2 separate regions of the Homo sapiens genome follow, and region 1 is linked to region 2. The links are contacts of gene promoters, found by promoter capture Hi-C in blood cells and fetal thymus (Javierre and others, 2016). All regions are on one chromosome and are shown on one strand. Each heading gives the region's core, a stretch centred on a gene start or on the middle of the fragment in contact. The rest is flanking DNA. Distances are from core to core; before and after follow the strand shown.

What was found. Contacts are between HindIII fragments. The CHiCAGO score rates a contact against its expected background, and 5 or more counts as called.
Region 1: a contact is called between the fragment with the promoter of PRCP here and the fragment with the promoter of TMEM126A in region 2, in 1 of 17 cell types (erythroblasts). The highest score is 6.6, in erythroblasts.

What each region holds. Positions count from the first base shown.
Region 1 is chr11:82,896,090-82,901,679 of GRCh38, reverse strand. It overlaps PRCP (prolylcarboxypeptidase), which reads left to right and starts at 1,250. Exons shown (of 9, transcript NM_005040.4): 1 at 1,250-1,445. The coding sequence starts at 1,278. It overlaps LOC124902602, which reads left to right. Exons shown (of 2, transcript XM_047427953.1): 2 at 1-766. The coding sequence ends at 656. RefSeq lists silencers at 315-404, 455-504 and enhancers at 715-764, 1,045-1,144, 1,295-1,354, 1,475-1,524. The HindIII fragment of the contact is 4,585 bases long and covers 1-2,265 here.
Region 2 is chr11:85,646,535-85,651,983 of GRCh38, reverse strand. TMEM126A (transmembrane protein 126A) reads right to left here and starts at 4,017. Exons shown (of 5, transcript NM_032273.4): 1 at 3,895-4,017; 2 at 1,643-1,735. The coding sequence starts at 1,728. RefSeq lists enhancers at 3,767-4,036, 4,207-4,256. The HindIII fragment of the contact is 2,186 bases long and covers 1,911-4,096 here.

The sequences.
Region 1 (5,590 bases), core at 1-2,500, 2.7 Mb after region 2:
CCAATCAGAAGAAGGCGCCGCAGAGGGTGGAGCTTAGCGAGGAAATCCTACAAGCATCTGGAAACGACCATTTTCGTCAAACTGCGGGTAGAGTCTTTCTCCCCGACAGGTGGATCAGTAGTACAGTCCGTAAAATTGGTTTTGGAGCTTCGCTGAGCCTCCTGGGCGTAGGGTTCCCGGGAAAGTGTGGAGTGAGCCGCAGCGCCCTGGGGTCTGGCGGGGTGACTGAAAGAGGGAATGGAAGCTGGATGAAGAGGGTTGAGGGAGCTTTGGAAGCCAGACCCGGCGCTGTCCTAGGGGCTAGCACTACCCACGGGCGGAGGGAGGAAGGGGGCGGTGGCAGGAGGCAGGAGGGGGGTGGAGCGCGGAGTGGGTTTTCGGGTGCCGGAGAAGAAAGGGGGCGTTATTTGAAAGAAGGGACCGGGACCTGGCGGGATTTAGGGGCGATGTGGACCCGGGGCGACCTGTGTAATGGATGGGTTGTGCGAGCAACACAGTTTTGGGGTGACCCAAGAACGGAGTATCATAGGGAGTGGTTAGGCTCCAGATGGAGGTGGGTGCAAGGAGCACAGTCTTTGGACCTGGACCCAGCGGTCTGCGACGACGTGCTCCGCTCACTGCTGAGTGATCTAGTGCAAGTTCCCGCACCTCTCTGAGCCTCAGTTTCCACATCTGTAGATGGGAATAACAATCATATACGACGCACAAGATTGCTGTGACGATTTAGTTAGAGGAGATGATGCGTGTGCCTCCCTGCCTCGTGATACACTGGCCTGTAGTGAACCTTCAATAAATTGTCATGGTAGCTGTTATTGCCGTTACGTAGGATTTGCGGAAGGCAGGAGGTGTCGCAATGGAATTGCGGTGGCCAGGGCAGGGTTTGGTGGTGATGATAATGGTAGGGATATTGGGTGACCTGAAGGACAGGTGGGCTTCGGGGGCGCTATAGATAAAGCATGGGCTACAGCGATGAGTTAGGAAGAGGCCCTAGCATGATAAGGGCAGACTTGGGGTGTGACCGCAATGAAGGTGAGTGCTAAGGAGCAGATGGCACGAGAGGAAAGTGGAGTGGAGGCGGTGTCCTCGGGGATGGGGGCGGAGTGGCTGTGGTGACCTGGCTTGGGCGGCGTCTCTGAGGAGCTGGCTGGCTTTGGGTTTCCCCTGGGAGGAGCTGTTTTGCGGCGGGCGGAGCTGCAGGCTGGGCAGGGCTTAGCCTGTGCGCTTCTGCTGGCCTCCTTTTCGCCCTCCCACCCGCACTGCAGTCTCCAGCCTGAGCCATGGGCCGCCGAGCCCTCCTGCTCCTGCTTCTGTCTTTTCTGGCGCCCTGGGCCACCATAGCCCTCCGGCCGGCCTTAAGGGCCCTCGGCAGCCTACACTTGCCAACCAACCCCACATCCCTCCCGGCTGTAGCCAAGAACTATTCGGTTCTCTACTTCCAACAGAAGGTAAGGGGGAGCGGGGGCTTCGCCGTCCCAGGCCCAACCGCCGGGAACCCTGACCCTCAGAGCCCGGGCAACGGAGCCTACCTCGAAATTCACACCCCTTGATGCCTAGGATCTGTTCGGTTTTTGGCTAACATCTTCCAGAAGGTGGTCCCAAATCCCAGTTCTGTTTAAATTTTCTCCTCCCATTACCAATAATTTGGTAGTAGTTTTGGCTGCATACTCTTGATTCAGGCTTTTCTGTAATTGGACACGACAGTCACTTCAACTCCCTCTGCTCCCAGAGGGTGCCCCAATCCGAACTCCCTTGACCTTCCCTCAAATTCAAATTATTAAATGCCAGCTCTGGTACCTAGTCTGCGGTGATAGTCATCCTTTGCCCCAAGGCAGCCCTAAATACAAATTTTAATATCTTTACCTATTAGAAAATATTGGATAGTTATCCATCCTAAAAGCCAGCCTCTCAGAAGGGGTCAGCTCAGAGCTGATTTTGTAGCCCTATTATTAAGAATTGTTGACAGTCCCTATTCCCCATAAGACTGAATGTATGTAGCCTATGCTTGTAAAAGGAGTTGTAGGAGTTTGTGGTGGGGGTGGGGATTAGCCTTTCTATGGTCTGTAACGTGAAATTAGAGGTTTTTGGGCTTGATGCCTTTGTGCTTGGCTGCAGCATGAGGCATTCCCCCACAGGTCTTGATGGAAAAGTACATCCTCTGTGAAATGACAAGTAATCCTTACAGTTCAGCATTTCTGAAAGCCTGTGTAAAAATAGGAAAAGATTTGGAAAAGGTTGGGATTAGAAAGAGTGCAAGGGTCTGAAGCTTGGCTTTAGGAGTCAGATAGAACCGGATTCCACCCTGCTAGCTCTGTGACCTTGGGCAGGTTACAGTACTTCTGTGAGCCTAGTTCCTTGATCTCTTGGGGTTTGTGGTGATGGTTGAATGAGAGCAGATAACGTACTCTTAGCAGAGTATCTGGCTTCAAGTAGGCACTCATATAATATGTGGTTATAGACCTATGTGAAATTTTGTTGTTGTTAATTGTGCAGAGACAAGGCTCACTATGTTGCCCAGGCTAGTCTTGAACTTGTGGGCTCAATAATCCTTCTGCATCAGCCTCCCAAAGTGTTGGGATTACAGGTGTGAGCCACTGAGCCCAGCCCTTATGTGAATTTGGAATGGGAATTTGTGGTAGAGGGATGTCATAGACTTCCAGAATAACTTAGAAATAATTTAAAAATTTTTTTATTTTTAAAAATAGAGATGGGATTTTGTCATCTTGCCTAGGCTGGTCTTGAACTCCTGGGCTCAAGCGATGCCCCTGTCTTGGCCTCCCAAAGGGCTGGGATTGCAGGCGTGTGCCACTGTGTCCCCAGCCAAGAAACAATTTTTAACCCAGACATTTGAGTTCAAGTTTATGAGGAAGAGAAAACATTTTAATTTTAGCAGGGGTACTAGGAAATAATCTTTTTTCTCAGGCAACTCCCTTAAATTAATTCTCTAGGGCATAATTCCCTCATTTGTAAATTAGGAGGGTTGGGACAAGGACCAATGTGTTTTACACTTTACTGAGGAAAATTAAGGGCTCTTTGGGGAGCTGTTTCAGAGGGAAAGTGGATGAAGGCTGAAGTGGAGGCCAAATTAGGTGCTCTAGTACCCTCTCTTGGATCTCTTTCAGCTTTTACCTGTTTTATATGCTGGGATTTTATATACAACTATTTGCAGAACTCAACTGCTAAAGTAAAACGGTGGGGAGGACTATTGGATTGGGAGATCTCTAAAATCCCATTGGGATTGATGAAAAAGAGAACTATCAGCAGAAAAGAGGAAGGGAACAAATGAGTTGTTAGTACCTTAGTTCCTAATTTATGTTCCTTTATTGTAGATTCTTTTCTTGGCCACTACACTCCTTAGAAATATAATTCAACACTGTTTCTTTTTCCATTTTTGATGATATGCAAAGTCCAGCTTTACTCAGCCACATTTTGTCCACTGGCTTATATTTAATTTATATTTTAGGATACAGATTCCACGTATGTATTTATTACCATAATAATAATTTTTCTTCTGTCTATTCCAATTGAGTTTTATTTCATTTTCTGAGGAAAACTTTTACATATGTATTTATTGCATAATTATAATTATACTAGTTGCCAATTTCTGAACCATTGATTTTTAGTTAGGACTATGTGTGAACTCAACTTTAAGTTTTTAAGTTAGAGCACATGAAATACTTTGATGCCTTCTAGTAATAAACTTATTATTAAAACTGTAAGGCTTAGTTTTTTATTCAAGGTTTAATTTTTATTAAACTTTATAATGATTTACCTGTGGTTATATCTGCCCCAGTGACCAAGCTGGACCCAGCTGTCCTTCTATGTATATAAAGGATGTGGTTTTATGGAGTGGTCTCTAAGAAGGCTTAGCCCATGGTCTTATCCCTCCCCTGCTTAGAAATTCTTCATAACTCTGATTGCAGGATAAAGGCCAAACACCTTGGCATGGGAATCCATTGTTCCTTACTATGTAACCCTAGCTGGTCGTTCCAACTTTATATTCTGCCATAATTCCCCATCCCAGCTCCCACTTTTAGCAACCTAACAGACTCAAGTGACTTTTACTGTGTCAGAAATTCTGTCTGGAATACCATCCCTCTTCCCCACTATTTAAACTCATAATTCTATTCCAGCAGAAATGTCTCACCTCTTCTGCGAATCTTTGACTTCTTTAAGGAAATTTAGTTGGTCTTTTTTCATCCTGCACATTTACTATATTGTATGTGTCCCTCCAGCTCGTTAGTACTCTACAATACCTAGAAGAGCCTATAAAAAAGTATAAAGCACAAAATAAATAGTTGTTGAAAGAGTGAATGCATGATTATTCAAAAAGAACCTAAACAAAGCAAAGGCTACCATCATTTAATTGTCACAAATCATTTTTTATTTTTCTTTTTATCTTTTACTTTAATTCTTTACTAATTATTTTTTCCTCCTTTTTCAAGGTCTTCAAATATTGAGTTAGGTAGGACTATTTGATTTCTTTTACCTGAAATAACTGAATTAGGAGACCAGAGAGAGGATAGTACATCACTTGGGCACATCGAGGCTCTGGGTACATGTGTAGTATGTGTGGTATCAGTGTCATAAAGGGCTCTCTGGAATATGTGGCTTGTGGTTACAATGTTGCATGCTTATTACCTTGTACCTCCCACCTGAGCCCCTCAGGCTAGAATGTGAGTCCCAAATCACACATTTTAGTGTGTGATGTAGTGAAGAGGGAGAATGGGTCCTGTCAGGCCATCATTTTTCTCAGTGGTAAAATTGGGAGCAATATCTATTGTATTAGGGTGTGTGTCTGTGTGTTTCTCTCTCTATGAGAGAGATTTTTATTAAGGAATTGGCTCATGCAATTGTGGAGGCTTAGTAAGTCCAAAATCTTCAGGGTAGGTTGGAGGCTGGAAACCCAGGGAAGAGTTGCAGTTTGGATGCCCAGGCATTCTGCTGGCAGAATTTCTTCTTGCTTAGGGGAAGTCAGTCTTTTTTTTTTTTTTTTTTTTTTTTGAGTTGGAGTCTCGCTCTGTTGCCCAGGCTGGGGTGCAGTGGTGAGATCTCGGCTCACTGCAACATCTGCCTCCTGGGTTCAAGTGATTCCCCTGCCTTAGCCTCCCGAGTAGCTAGGATTACAGGTGCCCGCCACCACGCCTGGCTAATTTTTGCAGTTTTTAAAATACAGACAGGGTTTTACCATGTTGGCCAGGCTGGTCTTGAATTCCTGACCTCAAGTGATCCACCCACCTTGGCCTCCCAAAGTGAGGGGAAGTCAAACTTTGTTCTATTAAGGCCTTAAACTGATTAGATAAGGCCCACCCAAATTATGGAGGGTAAAGTCCACTGATTTAAAGTCCGCTGATATAAATGTTAATCTCATCCAAAAAATACCTTCACAAAAACATCTAGAATGATATTTGACTAAATAGCCGGGCACCATGGCCTATAAAGTTGGCATATAAAATTAATCATCACATCCACCAAGGTTGTTGTCAGAGTTCAGTGTCGTAACAAATGAAAGCCACATGGATGGTGCATAAAACATGGTAGGAGTTTAAACAACTTGATGGAACAAGTGCTAGTTCCTTCACAACTCTGTCCT
Region 2 (5,449 bases), core at 2,768-5,267:
CCATGTTGGCCAGGCTAGTCTTAAACTCCTGACCTCAGGTGACCAGCCCGCCTCCGCCTCCCAAAGTGCTGGGATTACAGGTGTGAGCCACCATGCCCAGCCTACTACTCTTTTATTAGTCTTTCTCACTTTCCCTATCTTGCTGGCCTGGAAACATGGACATAGTTCCTTTTTTGCTTTAAAAGGTTTTCCGTTACCTCAGGAAAACAACTAGAAGGGAGTGGAGTTGGAGTGTGGGGAGGGGGGGTGAAAGAGCTTTTAAGATCTCACCAAGTTCTTACTACTGGCCTTTTTTTTCTTCCCCTTGGAGATCCTTGTTCTGAACACTACTGGTCTTGATTTATGGGTTCTCCCTGATTAAGATGGTAAGTGGCAGCAAGATGGGGATTTGTTCAGTTTCTATTCCTGAAGATAGCAAGATTATGCTTCCAGAATGTATTTTAAATGCATCCTCTTTTCATCTCAGCTGTCACCACCCCTACCATCTCCACTCACCAGGATTACTGTGCCATTTTTTCTACTGGTATTTGTGTTTCCTTTCTTTCCTACCTCAAATCTGCTTTCCAAAAAGCAGCTGGAATGTTCTTTAGAAATGCTAACATCATCCCCCTGCTCAAAACTATTCCTGGTCCTTACTCCCACTTCCTTAGTACTTCGGTAACAATGGTTACTCAAGTACCACAAGCCTTGGCTATCTTGTGGCTAGGCATATGCCATTCCCTCTACTTAAGACACTGTCCCTCTCTCCTTCCCAGGTGGCTGCTTTTCATCCTTTTATAGTCAGAGAGACCTTCTTGACTGTCAACAAAGTGTAAGACATTTTGTGGAAGTACACATTAGCTGCCTGGCAAAGATTAGTATGTTCCCTATATTGGTTTTTCTCTTTAATATCTTTTTTTTTTTTTTTTTTTTTTGAGACGGATCCTCACTCTTGTCGCCCAGGCTGGGGTGTAGTGGTGTGATCTCGGCTCACTGCAACCTCCGCCTCCCTGGTTCAAGCAATTCTCCTGCCTCAGCCTCCCAAGTAGCTGGGATTACAGGCACCTGCCACCACGCCCAGCTAATTTTTGTACTTTTAGTAGAGATGAGGTTTCACCATGTTGGCCAGGCTGGTCTGAACTCCTGACCTCAGGTGATCTGCCCACCCTGGCCTCCCAAAGTGCTGGGATTACTGGCGTGAGCCACCATGCCTGGCCCTCTTTAATAATATCTTAAAGATCTTTAGCCATGATCCTATTTCTCTGACATTCTCTATCTTGCTATGTGTGTTCTATGGTACTCTTAGACTGGTAAGCATACTGACAGAATGAACTGGGAAAAAAAAGACATTTTAAAAGTTAAAGTTTTGTTATTTAAATGGGTCTGTAAATGTTTACATTTTACTATACTCCAAGCCTAATGGAAAAACTCAAAACATTATACAATTAGGTATGTCCAAAGACATGAGTTCCAGCCTCACCTTCCACAATTAGCTATGTGATGTTGAGCAAAATGGTTAAACGCTCTCATCCAGGCAAGAAAAGGGCAATTTCCTTCTCACATTCCATGTTGTTTATACTCAAACCAGATAAACTTGAGATAATGAATCAATGGTGAAAATCCACCTGATAAAAGGTGTTTTTAAATTAAGAAGGGATCTTACCTTTCTGCTTCTGGAAGCTGGTTAATTTTTCTGGATATATCAACAATTGTTATGTTTTCCTTATTATTGGATTTATGATTTTCCATTTTGAGCCTTAAAAAACATGAAGATATCATTTCTCAAGAATTTATACAAAGAATTTTAAAAACCTTCTGAAGACTAAAAATAATACTGTAGAGCTAATCTGAAAAAAATCATTGCATACATATTATTAAAAAAAAATCTAAGTGAAACAGAAACCAGAACATGAAAAGCAACACATAAAGCTTTTAGGAAATACAGAATATCTTCATAATCCTTGAAAGTATTTCCTAAACAATTCACAAATAGCACTAAACATAAAAGACTTATAAAACTAACAGTATTGAAGTTAAGAACCTATGGTTATCAACATATACCATAAAGATAAGCTAGTGGGGGAGAAAATGCAATAGAACTGACAAAAGAGTAGTTAGTACCCAGAACATACATGGAACTACATATCAACATGAAAAAGGTAAGCAGCCCTACGGAAAAACTGACAAAATATTTGAACAGGCACTTCACAAAAAGGAAAGTTAAATGGCCAATAAACATGAAAATATGCTCACCTTCATTATAACTGGGGGAACAACCCACAGTGAGATACCAATAGGTACCCATAGGTTAGCTAAAATCAAAATCTGACAATTCCAATTATTGGCAAGAATGCGGGGTAGCTAAAACTACATTCTGTGTACATTCTGTGGGGTAGCTTTACCCAAACTGTACAGTCACTTTGGGAAAGAATTTGGTATTATTTAGCAGATAGAAGACACACATAGCTAGCAATTTCATTTCTAGGTATACCTGAGATCAGGGCTCAGCAAACTTTAAAGGGCCAGATGTAAATGTGGTAGGCTTTGCAGGTAACATACAGCCTTTGTTGAATATTTGTTTTTAAAAAAACTATAAAAACATAAAAATCATTCTTAGCTGGGTGGCTGTACCAAGGCAAGCTATAGGCTGCATATGGCCTACATGCCAGTAGTTTGTTGATGTCTGCACTAGTTAGGGTGAAAATGTGAAGGGAATGGTGAATGATGAAGATTTGGCTCAGGTTTCAGGGTAACAGTTAAGAAAAACAAAGGCTGGATGCAGTGGCTCACGCCTGTAATCCCAGCACCTTGGGAGGCCAAGGCAGACGGATCACCTGAGGTCAGGAGTTCGAGACCAGCCTGGCCAACATGGTGAAACTCCCTGTCTTTTAAAAATACAAAAATTAGCCAGGCACGGCGGCAGCTGCCTGTAATCCCAGCTACTCGGGAGGCTGAGGCAGGAGAATCGCTTGAACCTGGGAGGTGGAGGTTGCAGTGTGCCGAGATCTCGCCACTGCACTCCAGCCTGGGTGAGAGCGAGACTCGGTCTACAAAAAAAAAAAAAAAAACAGTTCAGGGATAACAACAAAGGAAAACATGCTTTTATGAAACCAGATTTTCTCATTTCCTACAACATTACAGGCACTCGTTTAAATATTTATTGCTACCTGTTTTATATCGATAAGAGGTCATTTGGAAATGTTGATTACCTTGACATTCCATATCTCTAGACTTAAAGCTAACCTAATAAGTACAAAGCAGCCTTAGAAATTTATGTCTAGGTTTCTGGTAGTCAAATTTTTGAGGGCCTTGGCTACGATAAGATGATAAGACACAATCTCTGCTGTACAGGAGCTCTGAATGATTTTGTGTATGGGGTGGTGAAATATATAATCAAATTTAGTATGTATATATTGTACTGAGGGCAATTAAGTCACTCAATTCAGTATAAGTGCTGACTGGGCAGCCCCTGTGGGCATTTTGTCTCCGATATTAATAACAAATATCTATCAAAGACAACGCCGCCTGTAAAAACTACAAATATTTCGAAAGATTTTTGTGTTACCTATCTCATGTCATTCTTGGAAGAGCTCTGAGAGATAGGCAGTGTGGGGCCTATCTGAAAGAGAAGTAAAGTGGGACCTCTGAAAATCAAATTTGGCCGTGGTCACCTTGTAAATTGACAGTAAACCTGGGATTAAATTCAATCTCAGGCATTTCTCCTTTCTACTGAGTTAATTTAAATATAAGGTCTTTCCTTCTAGAGTGCAAAGTGAAAAGACAGCAGGAAGAGCTAACTACACTTCTACTTGCTCTCATTTACGCGCAGCGCTGCTGGTAGCTAGCGTGTCACCGCGTCGTGCTTCTCCTGACACCGGGACATTTACTTCACCCCCTCCCCCGGAATACCAGTACCTTATGCTCTCCTCCCAGCAGCCTGTGGGTGCCTCCTCCTTCCTCAGCCACGCCGGAGTTCACTGTGGCCTTTGCTCAAATTACCTGGGCGCAGCCATCTTTGGCTGACTCGTGACGCGGCGTGGGCGGGCGCCGGGTCGCGGCTGCTAATTGGACTGCGGGACGGAGGTTGCAGCCAGCAGCGGCTTTGGGCTGAGAAGCTTCCGGCCCTAGGAGGTGCCGGGAGGCTAAGCGTTGAGGTTTGTTTGCCTGGCGTAGAGTGTGCTCGTTTCACCTACTCTTGCCTCCCAGGACAGAACTTGTAGAAATTGTGAAATTTCGAGATATAAGTTGGGTGACCCTCAGTCAGCCTCTTCCATTGAAAACGTACCTCGGGCATATTACTTAACTTCCTGGTCAGTAGAGCCTACTTACGTTCTTGGCATGGGGTAAATGAAAACTGCACAGCTCTTGGCATATGATAGCTACTCAGGTTAAAAATAAGTCAAAGGTGAGCTATTTCTTGGCTCTATCGATTTTCTACTCTCCCTAGGAACTTAAGCTCCCTGTGCCATGTTTTGATCTGTATTGATTGCCCTACCATAATCAGCACCTCAGAGCTGCAGCTTATTTTTCTGAGGATTTCTCGTGTTCTCCAGAGTACTGCTTATTTGGAAGCAGTGTTGGGTGAAAGTCATCTTATTTCTTCTTGCTTTTTAAGTATAAATACTAGAAAATTTAGAATTATATATGTGGCTTGCATTATATTTCTATTGGACAGTGCTGTTCAGAAGGTACCTCTAATGCTCTCCTCCCAGCAGCCAGTGGATGCCTCACCAGGTCTTCCTCAGCCATGCTGGGGCTCCCTGCAACCTTTGCTCAGTTCGCTTGGACTAATTAACCCAATAGAAGGGAAAAATGCCTACAATTGAATTTTATCTTAACTCCATTAAGATTAGCAGGTAAACATTGTGCCAAAAAATATATAACTAACTGTAGCAATAAATACATGATCATAACACATTATCAGAAATCTTAATTATTCTCATCCTCTCAAATTTCTGAACAAGTGATAAAGTGTTGCATTGTCCAGATAATTTTTATACTGTCTCTCCATTGCAGGGTTGCTTGACCATTAGGCTCCATAGTGCCAAGAAGTCTGTAATTGCAGTTTCTAAACTTGCACAAATAGAAAGACTTATTTTCACGAAGGTGTACAAGAAGGAAAATTCCTAGTCTTTTTTTTATTTTTATTTTTTATTTTTTAGACAGAGTTTTGCTCTCGTCGGCCAGGCTGGAGTGCAATGGCCTGATCTCAGCTCATTGCAACTTCTGCCTTCCAGGTTCAAGCGATTCTCCTGCTTCAGCCTCCAGAGTAGCTGGGATTACAGGCGTGTGCCACCACGCCCAGCTGATCAGCTGATTTTTTTTTTTGTTTTTGAGACTGAGTCTCGTTCTGTCACCCAGGCTGGAGTGTAGTGGTGTGATTTCGGCTCACTGCAAGCCCCGCCTCCTGGGTTCACAGCATTCTCCTGCCTCAGCCTCCCAAGTAGCTGGGACTACAGGCTCCTGCCAC